3 separate regions of the Homo sapiens genome follow, and all the other regions are linked to region 3. Evidence: promoter capture Hi-C in 16 types of primary human blood cells and fetal thymus (Javierre and others, 2016). All regions are on one chromosome and are shown on one strand. The core of a region is centred on a gene start or on the middle of the fragment in contact, and the rest is flanking DNA. Distances in the headings are between cores, read along the strand shown. Region 1 overlaps BCO2 (beta-carotene oxygenase 2). Region 2 overlaps TEX12 (testis expressed 12). Region 3 holds the start of HSPB2 (heat shock protein family B (small) member 2).

Region 1 (3,585 bases), core at 569-3,068, 300 kb after region 3:
AGGTCCATTGCCCATTTTTTATTTATTTTTAATTAATTAATTAATTAATTTATTTTTAACTTTTAATTAAAAAGTAAACTTTAATATTGAAAATGCAAACTTGGGGAAGACAGAAAAGATCACACACAAGGCTGTCACTTCACACTTGGAAGGTTGCGCAGCGGCCAGGCAGAGGCGCTCCTCACATCCTAGACGGGCGGCAGCTGGGCAGAGGTCCTCCTCACTTCCCAGACAGGGCGGGGGCCGGGCAGAGGCGCTCCTCACATCCCAGACAATGTGGGGGCCAGGCAGAGGCGCTCCTCACTTCCCAGACAGGGCAGCGGCCGGGCAGAGGCGCTCCTCACTTGCCAGAGGGTGGGCGGCTGGGCAGAGGCACTCCTGGGGCGGCAGGGGCGGCAGCTGGGCAGAGGTGTTCCTCAGTTCCCAGACGGTGGGCGGCCGGGCAGAGGCGCTCCTCACTTCCCAGACGGGGCGGCGGCCGGCTTTTCCCATTTTTTAATTGGGTTATTTGTTTTTCTGGTATTGAGTTGTAAGAGTTCTTTATAAATTTTGAGGCCAGGTGTGGTGGCTCACGCCTGTAATCCCAGCACTTTGGGAGGCCAAGGTGGGAGGATTGCTTGAGCCCAGCAGTTCAAGATCAGCCTGGGCAAGATGGCAAGACCTCATCTCTACAAAAAAATTTAAAAATATACAAATTTTGAGTATAATTCCTTATTGGATATGTGGTTGCAATTTTTTTCCCCAGCCCATAGGTCGCCTTTTCGTTTTGTTGATTGTTTCCTTTGCTGTGCAGAAACTTTTAAATTTGATGTCAACTTGTCAGTTTTTGCAAGGAAAAAACCTGATACAATATTGCAACTGTAGATCAATTTGGAGACAATTGACATCTTTACAATATTGAGTCTTCCAATCCATGAACATGGAATATCCCTCCATTTATTTGGGTCTTTTAAAATTTCTCTCAGTAAAGTTATAGTTTTCAGTATAAAGATACTACATTTCTTTTTGTGTGTTTTGAAATTATTGTAAATGGTATCTTTTAAGCTTTCATTTTCTGTTTGTTGCTCTTTATAGAAATGCAATTGATTTTGTATATTATCTTCATATCCAGAGATCTTGCTAAATTCACTTATTAGTTCAAATAGTTGATCCACAGATTATTTTGGATTTTCTATGTGCACAGTCATGTTACCTGAAAATAATGACAGCTTTCTTTCTAATACTTAGGGCTTTATTTCTTTTTCTCGCCTTACTGTACCAGCTAGGACTTCGAGTTGAATAGAAGTGCAAGATAGTGAATAGAAGTTGAATAGGTAGTGTTGAAAAATGTTTAATAATTCATTATTAAATATAAAATTGCTATAGGTATTTTTCTAGCTATCTTTATCAGATTATCCTAATAGTGCCTTTTAATGAATAAACATTCTTAACTTAATATGGCCCAGTATACAGTCTCTTCCTTTATGACTTATACGTTGTACATCTTGTTTTAGACATCTTCTCATGGCAAGGTAATGAAAATATTATCCTATGTTATCTTCTAGAGAAGTCAAGTATCTGTATATGCATTATTCTGTTTCTGGACTGTATATTCTGTTCCATTGTTTCTACTTATGGTTACTTGTGCACTGCATTAAAAAAGTCTTAAGGTTTAGTGTCAAGTTATCCTAATATTTTTCTTTTGAAAAGAGTGTCATGGCCATCCCTGGCCCTTCACGTTTTTGTAGAAATTTTAGAATCAGCTGTCAGTTCCCCACACAAAAATATGGTCACATTTTAATTCTATTTGCACTGAACCAATGTATCAATTTGAGAGAGGACTAACCTCTTTACACAATGTTGAGTCTTCCAGTACGTGAACACAATATATCTTTCCATTTATTTGAGACTTCTTTAATTTCTTTCAATGTTTATAGTTTTCTGGTTACATATTTTCTGCATCTTTTGTTAGATTTATTCCTAGGTTTTTTTTTTACATTATTTTAAATGTTGTTTATTTTTTGCTTTCATTTTATGTTAGTGTTGCTATATAGCAATTTTTTTTTTTTGAGACAGTGTGACGGTCTCACTCTGTCACCAAGGCTGGAGTGCAGTGGTGTGATCTCAGCTCACTGCAACCTCTGCCTCCTGAGTTCGAGCAATACTCCCACCTCAGCTTCCTGAGTAGCTGGGACTACAGGCATGTGCCACCATTCCTGGCTAATTTTCATATTTTTTTGGTAGAGATGGGGTTTCACCATGTTGGCCAGGCTGGTCTTGAACTCCTGACCTCAAGTGATCCACCCACCTTGGCCTCCCAAAGTGCTGGGATTACAGGAATGAGTCACCGCACCTGGCCGGCAATTGATTTTTGTTTGTTGATTTTATATTCACTAATATAGTAATTACACTTACAAATTCTAATAATTATAGATTCTTTTAGATTTTTACATCTATAATATCATATGCAAGTAATGATAGTTCCTTTTCTAACTCTACATGTAAGCTGTATATTGGCTTTTTTTTTTTTGTCTTATTTCACTGGATCTTCAGTACAGTGTTGAATATAAGTGATGATAATGGCATCCTTAACTTGTTCCCAATCTGAGAGGCAAAGCTTGCAGCATTTTACCATGAAGCATGCTGTGGCTGTAGATTAAAAAAATATAATAGAAACTGTCCCTTCTCGGGGGTCATGATGGGCAGCAAGATGCATCTGCTAGCAGTGTCGTTCAGGTAGTCAAGCCACATGCTCCATTAATAAGCTTCCCTGCTGGAAGAGACAATCCTAAACCCAATGTACCAGAAGCTCTGAGATCAGCAGGGCAACCATCTCACGATTCTGCAATTTCCCAGCATTCTAAGGGAAGTAAATTACTGGATTTGTGGATGTACCAGACACTGCAGAAGTAATGAAAACATTACCTCAGAAATATAGAAGTAAACTTGTGTCTCAAGAAGAAATTGAATTTGTCCATTGTGGAGATCCAGAATAATCACTGTGGCTGCTGTTTGTCATCAGACAAAAGAATTACCTTTACAATAAAGGACTTCCAAAAAAAAATAGACTGTTTTTTAGAGCAATTTTACTTTTAAAGAAAAATCAAGCAGAAAGTATGGAGAGTTTCCATATTTCCCTCTCCTGCTAATGGTACATTTGTTACAACTGATGAATCAATGTAGGAGTGTTACATTATTACTAACTAAAGTCCATACTTTACATGATGGTTAGGTCTGTGTTGTACAGTTCTACCGGTTTTGAAAAATGCATAATGTCATGTATCTACCAATATCATACAGAATAGTTCACTGCCCTGAAAATCTCCCTGTGCTCCCCCATTCGTCCCTTCCCCTTTCCTCCTCTCAGCCCCTGGAAACCACTGATCTTTTCACTATTTCTGTAGTTTTGACTTTTCCAGAATGTCACATAGTTGGAATCATACAGTATGTAGACTTTTCAGACTGACTTTTTTCACTTAGCAATATGCATTTAAGGTTCCTCTGTGTCTTTTGTGGCTTGAGAACTCATTTCTTTTTATCGCTGAAATGTGTATTCATTCATTTATTGAAGGACATCTTGGTTGGTTCCAATTCTTGGCAATTATG
Region 2 (4,008 bases), core at 550-3,049, 260 kb after region 3:
TTATAGGACTAATCAAACAGATGTGTTAAAGTTACCCAAATCAGCATCGTTTCTCAAAAACAACAAAGTCAATTGATAACTTGAATATGGACAGGGCTCCCCTCATCTCAAAGACACAGAGACTATACCCTTCCAGGTTTCAACATTTGGACTCCTAGGGAAAATCCCTTCCGAATTTATGGAAAAGTAAAAGTAAAATTTGAAGCTACTTTAAAGTAAGGTTGGACAGTGGGAATAACCTCAGACTCGAGTGAGATCTCGGTTCTAATTTAGCTCAGTCTTACTGGTGTCACTTGATCCACCGTCACTGTCCCTGTTTTCTCACTTGTAAAAAATGAGATTGAATTAGATGAACTGTAAGACCTGTTTAAACATTAAGATTTTGTGAAGATAGAAGAATCCTTTTTTTTTTTTTGAGGTGGAGTCTCGCTCTGTTGCCCAGGCTGGAGTGCAATGGCACAATCTCGGCTCACTGCAACCTCCCTCTCCTGGGTTCAAGCGATTCTCTCACCTCAGCTTCCCAAGTAGCTGGGATTACAGGCGCCTGCCACCACGCCTGGCTAATGTTTGGATTTTTAGTAGACACAGGGTTTCACCATGCTGGCCAGGCTGGTCTCGAACTCCCGACCTCAGGTGATCTTCCTGCCTCAGCTTCCCAAAGTGCTGGGATTACAGCCGTGAGCCAGCGCGCCCGGCCGAAGATAAAAGAATCTTAACTGAGCCAGTCCTGAAACAAGGCAGAATTGCCAGAGAGACTCATTTGGCTAAGTACATAGAGAGGAGTAGTTGAAAATGATGGGACTAGTAGGCTTGCACCAGATAATACAGGACCTTGAAGGCCATATCATGGAATTTCAACTTATTCTGGAACAATGAAAGTTTTTGAGTTAAAGGAATGCAGTAATCAAAGTTTTGAAAGATTACCCAAATAGCAGTTGATAGAATGATTTAGAGGAGGGAGAAATTGAGTTTAGGAAAGTGACAGATAATGACAGTCTAAATTAACATCAGCAGTAGGAGTGGGAAACAGGGAAGGATTCCAGAGAGCTTGTAGCATGGAGTTTGTACCTAAATCTGGCATTGTTCTAAGCTTTGTAGCTGGTGCCTTCGGAATATGATGGCAAATCACCTTGTAAAGCCTGATAATAGAAATTGCAAGAGGCCAAGAGAATTGGAGGTAAGCTGTATGCCTATGGAGCCTTAATCTTTTATTCTGTTTTACATACTACTCAAATTTCTTCCCTTTAAGAAAGCTCTATAGATAAGTGGGATTTAATGTATTCGTATGCCCAGAGCTAGGATTGTCCTACAACATAGGAGGAACTATGTTGATTCCAGCTGCTTTTTCACTAAGTATAGGCCTCCAAGAAACTATTGGGAGATTTCTTTTTGGTAGCTTGAGATCTAGAGACAGAAGTGAGTCTGTGCCTTTATGATCCATAGGATTTTATGTAATTATTTTGCTGTGATAAGTAAGATAACTAGGTACTATAGTTACTGATCTTTTTAAAGAGCACAGTATCCTGTCTTTTACTACTGCCCCCACCAGTTGATCTTTTGCATTTGGGACATGATTTGCTCCCTTGAAGATTATATTATTTAGCAAAATTTCACAAGCATTTGGCTACTGTCTAAATTACAGTTTAGCTTCATTGCTATGAAAACATCTACTGGTTCAAGATACCAGACGCTTTTTCAACAGGAGTTTAAAACCACATTTAAAGTCTAATTTAAGGCTGGGCGCATTGGCTCATGTCTGTAATCCTAGTGCTTTGGGAGGCTGAGGCAGGAGTATCGTTTGAGGCTAAGAGTTTCAGATCAGCCTGGGCAACACTGCAATACATTGTCTCTGAAAACAAAACAAAACAAAACAAAATTAGCTGGGCATGGTGGAATGTTCCTGTAGTCCTAGCTACTCAGGAGTCTGAGACAGGAGGATCACTTGAATCTAGGAGGCTACAGTGAGCTAAGATTGTGTCACTACACTTTGGCCTAGGTGACAGAGCGAGAACTTGTCACAAAAACAAACAAATGAAAAGCAAAGTCTAGTTGAAAACCAAAATAAAATTTAATATATTGAGCAAGGTGTTTCTTGGGCCTGTAAATTTCCTTAATAATAAAAACTCAAATGACTAAGTCATATGCTTTCTAGCATGTTTGCCTTTTTCTGAAAAATGTTTTATTTGCTTTTTCTTAATAAACAAAATGTATATGTCCTGAAGATCTTATTGACTGTACCTGTTTTCTTTATTTTGTCCTGTTAGTCTCCAGTGCCAGATAGTCCACAGCTGTCCTCTCTTGGAAAATCAGATTCATCTTTCTCTGAAATTTCCGGACTATTTTATAAAGATGAAGCCTTGGAGAAAGATTTAAATGGTGATGTATAAAATGTTTATATTTCTAAACATCAGTCTTATAATGCAGAAGGTTTGTTATATTTTATAACTTAAATGATTTTTCTTGAACAGATGTGAGCAAGGAAATTAATCTAATGTTGTCTACCTATGCAAAGCTTTTAAGGCAAGTACTTATAGTATATTCTCTGGGGTCTTTATGTTAGTTTTCTTCTGGAAACTCTGTATTGGGAAGTTTAATTCTGTGGCTGCCAAACCTCTCCAGTAATTAAAACTTTGGAATTTTTTATTCTACCTCAGTCCCTTATAATAGATTAGTTGGTTATTTTCAGGGAATAGCGTCAACTTTTCCACTAAAAATCCTTTCTTTTTTACTCTTGCCAAGCTAATACTAGACTGTATATATCTTGGTCTGTAATTAGATGACATTACATTTTAAATTTTATGTAAATACCTCTTTGAGAAAAATGTTTGATGAAATTAATGATAACAGACTGATATTAAAGATAAATATTTATGTCATAGAGAGTCAGCCTTTCATATCCATGAATTCTGAATCTGTGGATTCAATCAACCACACATTGAAAATATTTGGAAAAAAAGGGTGGTTGTGTCTGTACTGAACATGTACAGACATTTTTTTCTTGTCATTATTTTTCAAACAATACAGTATAACAACTGTTTACATAGCATTTACATGGTATTGGTCTTATAAGTAATCAAGAGATAATTTAAATTATATGGCAGAATGTTCTTAGGTTATATGCAAATACTATGGCATTTTATATAAGGGACTTGAATATCTATGAGGGATGTTCCTTTGGTATCTGTGGGGGATTCTGGAACCAATACCCCATGGATACTGAGGGATGACTGTATTTATATTTTACCTATATCTATTTTAAGACCAAATTTAAATACTTTATTAGCCTAATATGTTTTATGAAGTGTTTTTTTTACACTGCCGGACAGTCATTATACTTGGATAGTGGTTTGTGTGGCTGTAAAAATAATGTATGTAATTGAATATTAGTGTTATAATGTATAAGATACACTTCCTGTTGTGTCAGGAGACCTTTTTGAGTAGTCAAAAATATTTGTGGGACTAATTTTTTTTTCTGAAGAGTATTAGTAAATTAATGAAGTTCTGTGGCACATAAAGCCATTTAAATGAAATAGTTAACAAATATTGTGTAATGAAGAACAACATAATGATGTTGTTTATATCTACTTAGTTTAATATACAACTTTTTTTCCTATTAGTGAGAGAGCAGCAGTAGATGCATCTTACATTGATGAGATAGATGAACTCTTCAAAGAAGCCAATGCTATTGAAAACTTTCTAATACAAAAAAGAGAGTTCCTGCGACAGAGGTTTACAGTGATTGCAAACACATTACACAGATAAAATATATACTTGAAATAAGCTGAGAATTTAAACCTATTATTGTTATAATGAAAGAATGACATTTATGCTTTGAAAGCTCTCGAGTTGTTAAAGAAAATGTATATCTCGAATAGAGAAGGGGAAACTCCTTGAATTTCTAGGTTTAAAAAGGAACTTTTAAATTCCTTAATGTTAATATTAATGTTCATGTTAATGTCCTAAGCTGGCCATTAACATGAACTACGTCACTTTTCTTTTGAGGGTCAA
Region 3 (3,652 bases), core at 1-2,500:
CCAGTAAGGACTCTCCCGTCCTAGCTGTGGGGAGACTCACCTCTGAGAGTCCAGTGTCAAACCAGCTGGGTGCCCGCAGGAAGGAGGGTGGCCGAAGGTAGAAGGGACTCAGGGAAGTAGACGTCGGGAAAAGATCAGACTCCAACAGGTGCTCTCCGAAGAACTGGTCAAAGAGGCGGCTGGGGGAGTGGAAAGGAAAGAAGGGGCGGCGGATCCAGGGGTGGTGGATGGCGATGTCCATGGTGGCTAGGTGAGTGTGAGGGGTCAGCTGGCTGGTCAGCTCCTTCAGCTGCAGCTACAGCCAGCCCCTTATATATGCAGTCTTGTGAAGCTTCTGGAATGGTGATGTCAGGGGTTTTATTATCCTAGCTCACCAGCAGTTCATGGAGACTTGTGATCCGGGATTTGGCAATGTGACACATACCCAGTACTCACTGAGCTAAGAAAAGAGAGACACAAACACGTCTGAGCCGGCCAGTGACTTGTCATGGTCTTGTTTCACTAGCTTTCTGTCCACACCCAATGGCACCCACCCCCACCCCTGTTCTCTGAAGCTGGTACAGAGTCAGGAATCCCAAGCAGGCACGCGGGGTGGGGGGAGGATGGGAGCCGGCGTAGTGTGCCCCTCCTCCTCCTTTCCAGTCCTGAATGCCAGGGGAATCAGGCCAGCAACTATCTTGGGCCTGGGCAGGGACTGGAATCTTCCTAGGCTGAGCCCCAGGGACATTAACTCTTTGTGAGTCCTTGGAAGAGAGCAGTGATGGTCAACATGTCAGCACCAGCCATCTGCCTCGTGCCCTGGGTTGACCTGGGTTTAGGAGAGGATCCCACATCTGGGCAGAAAGACCCCACCCCCTGAAAAAAGAGCAAACAGATTTCTTGCATCTTTCGTTCTATGTGGCTCTCAGAACATTAAATCCAGGAGTGCTTTAGGAATTGGGTGCACAGTGCCTGCCACCGAAGAGGAGAAAATGAGGTGTGGAAACGTGCAAACCGTTTGTGAGGGTCTCAGCGAGGCCTCTTCATGCCCCAGGCACCACCAGCTCCCCCTCCCCAGCTCGTTCCCAGCCAGGACCCTCAGCTGTCCTCTCAGGCCCCCTGCGACAGCTGAAGAGTGTGCGGGGGAGGGGACTAGGGGTCCGGGCGGCGCTGGTCACACCCTCGTTGCTCTCACTCAGGGCCCCCACTCCCAGCCCCTCCCCCCCCAAGAGGCTCGGCACTATTTTGGGTGGTGTCGACCCCGCCCCCACCTCCTATCGAGCCCTGGCTCTCCGGGCAGCTGGAGGGGTCGCGCTGCGCCTGTTGGGGCTGCACCTCGGACCAGGGCTTCTGCTGCATCTGCAGCCATGTCGGGCCGCTCAGTGCCACATGCCCACCCGGCCACCGCCGAGTACGAATTTGCCAACCCGAGCCGCCTGGGTGAGCAGCGCTTCGGAGAAGGTATGGCACAGACACCACCCCCTTGCCCCCCACCCCCACCCCCTGAAATTCTGGGCTGACCTCCCAACGTTGCTGGCCTCCACCCCACTCTGGGCTTAACTGATCTCCTGGGACCAGCCACCCCCCACCCCAGACTACCCCTCATCCCCTCCAAGCAGAGATCTTTCCCATTCCTGCTGACCTCAAGACACACTTGGTGCTTGCAGTGCTGATACCTGCTCTTTGCCGGCCTGGGTGTGCCTCCTTGTCCCCCTTCTATCCACCCAGGCCGTTTGGTGCCTCCTCCTCCTCCCCCTCCTCCTCCTTCTCCTCCTCCTCCTCCCTTTCCTTTCCGTTCTCTTTCCCCTCTTCCGAGCTGCCTTCTCCTCCTAGCTACAGTGTGGCCTCCCTCCCGTTCCCTACTCCTCCTGACTCCCCTCTTGCTCTTCCCAATCCCTCCTCTCCAGATTTCCCATTTCGCCCCTGTGCCAGCCTCATCCTCCCTCATCCTGCCTCTTGCCTTCTCTCTGCCCTTTAGGCCTCCTGCCAGAAGAGATCCTGACCCCCACACTCTACCATGGCTACTATGTCCGGCCTCGGGCCGCCCCAGCTGGGGAGGGCAGCAGGGCAGGGGCCTCCGAGCTTAGGCTCAGTGAGGGCAAGTTCCAGGCATTTCTGGATGTGAGCCACTTTACCCCAGACGAGGTGACTGTGAGGACTGTGGATAACCTGCTGGAGGTGTCTGCCCGGCACCCCCAGCGCCTGGACCGCCACGGCTTCGTGTCCCGAGAGTTCTGCCGCACCTATGTCCTGCCTGCTGATGTCGACCCCTGGCGAGTCCGAGCTGCTCTCTCCCATGATGGCATCTTAAACCTGGAAGCACCTCGGGGTGGCCGACATTTGGACACAGAGGTCAATGAGGTCTACATCTCCCTGCTCCCTGCGCCTCCTGATCCAGAGGAAGAGGAGGAGGCAGCCATAGTTGAGCCCTGATTGCCACAGACCCAGCACCCAGCAAATCCCTCTCTACCTCCCAAGGTGATATGGGCAGCTGCCCACCACTCCAGAGGTAGCAGCATCCTTGGGGGAAGGGAAAGGTGCATGGTCCACAATGTATGGTTTGGTCCCATGGGACATGTCATAGCCTTGGTTTAGTTTTGGGTGGAGCTGAATAAACCCAAATCTCAGGGCCTTGTTTGTACTGCTCCCTATTCTGTGGCCGGGAAGCTGGGATGGGGAGGGAGGGAGGAGGTCACAGCCAGCTAGACAAAAAGCTCCTCAGTTTGATGTGCCCAACGTCATAGGACCCTGAGCTCGCACTTGGATGCTGAGATCACACCCGGAAGCTGACTCTGGCTCCAGATCAAATTCCTAGCCATAATTTTCTCACAATGCAACAAAAGAGAGAGTGATCCTGGGAGGGAAAAGGGATATGCCATCCAAACAGCCCAGAGGGCACTGTCTGAGCTGGTGATTAGAGACACAAAAACAAGGGTCTCCAGACTGTCTGGCCCTTTTTGGGTAGGGGCTGGGAAAATGGTTTTTGGCTGGTGAGAGTTGCCTAAAGTCCTGGAGTGAATACTTTGTTTTCATGTACTAAGGTCTGTCCACTTAAATGGTCACTGATTTTGAGAGCCTGAGTATGCATACACAGGGCACAGACACAAAGCCTCTCCAATTATCACGGAACCCCATTACCTTCCCATCCTCTGGGGGTACGGTGTATTCAGGAAAGCCTGAGGTCTGTCCCCTCAGTTATTCTCTGCAATCAAGAGAACATCCAGCTACATGATTTGGGGGAAGTGTCCAAAAGACCTTCCTGCCTCCAAATACATATTTCATTAGGCTGTGGTAGATACCTACAATTCTTCCATTAAAGCAGTTGTTTCTTGGCTGGGTGCAGCAGCTCACACCTGTAATCCCAGTACTTTGGGAGGCCGAGGCAGGAGGATCACTTGAGCCCAAGAGTAAGAGACCAGCCTGGGCAATAGAGTGCAACCTTGTCTCTACAAAAAAATAAAAATTAGCCAGGCATGGTGGTGCATGCCTGTAGTCCCAGCTACTTGGGAGGCTGAGGTGGGAGGATGAGCTAGGGAGGTTGAAGCTGCAGTGAGCTGAGATTGCGCCACTGCACTCCAGCCTGGGTGACAGAGTGAGACCCTGCCTCAAAAAAATTAAATTGAATTGAATTAAATTAAGTGGTTGTTTCTTAACTTTTGGGAGTTATAGACCC

The links. Contacts are between HindIII fragments. The CHiCAGO score rates a contact against its expected background, and 5 or more counts as called.
Region 1: a contact is called between a fragment that was not itself captured here and the fragment with the promoter of HSPB2 in region 3, in 1 of 17 cell types (neutrophils). The highest score is 6.7, in neutrophils.
Region 2: a fragment that was not itself captured here is called in contact with the fragment with the promoter of HSPB2 in region 3 in 2 of 17 cell types (erythroblasts and neutrophils); the score reaches 5.5 in erythroblasts.

The regions. Positions count from the first base shown.
Region 1 is chr11:112,205,924-112,209,508 of GRCh38, forward strand. All of the region lies in intron 8 of BCO2 (beta-carotene oxygenase 2), which reads left to right. It also overlaps the pseudogene MRPS36P4. Among named protein-coding and RNA genes, the nearest start is that of PTS, 19 kb to the right of the region's middle. The HindIII fragment of the contact is 1,552 bases long and covers 1,043-2,594 here.
Region 2 is chr11:112,168,155-112,172,162 of GRCh38, forward strand. It overlaps TEX12 (testis expressed 12), which reads left to right. Exons shown (of 5, transcript NM_031275.4): 2 at 1,099-1,177; 3 at 2,265-2,376; 4 at 2,469-2,520; 5 at 3,618-4,008. The coding sequence starts at 1,115. The coding sequence ends at 3,762. Among named protein-coding and RNA genes, the nearest start is that of TEX12, 2.8 kb to the left of the region's middle. The HindIII fragment of the contact is 1,422 bases long and covers 1,089-2,510 here.
Region 3 is chr11:111,911,484-111,915,135 of GRCh38, forward strand. HSPB2 (heat shock protein family B (small) member 2) reads left to right here and starts at 1,251. Exons shown (of 2, transcript NM_001541.4): 1 at 1,251-1,440; 2 at 1,958-2,610. The coding sequence starts at 1,347. The coding sequence ends at 2,412. CRYAB (crystallin alpha B) reads right to left here and starts at 287. Exons shown (of 3, transcript NM_001289808.2): 1 at 41-287. The coding sequence starts at 241. HSPB2-C11orf52 (HSPB2-C11orf52 readthrough (NMD candidate)) reads left to right here and starts at 1,253. Exons shown (of 5, transcript NR_037651.1): 1 at 1,253-1,440. RefSeq lists an enhancer at 2,002-2,655. The HindIII fragment of the contact is 6,880 bases long and covers 330-3,652 here.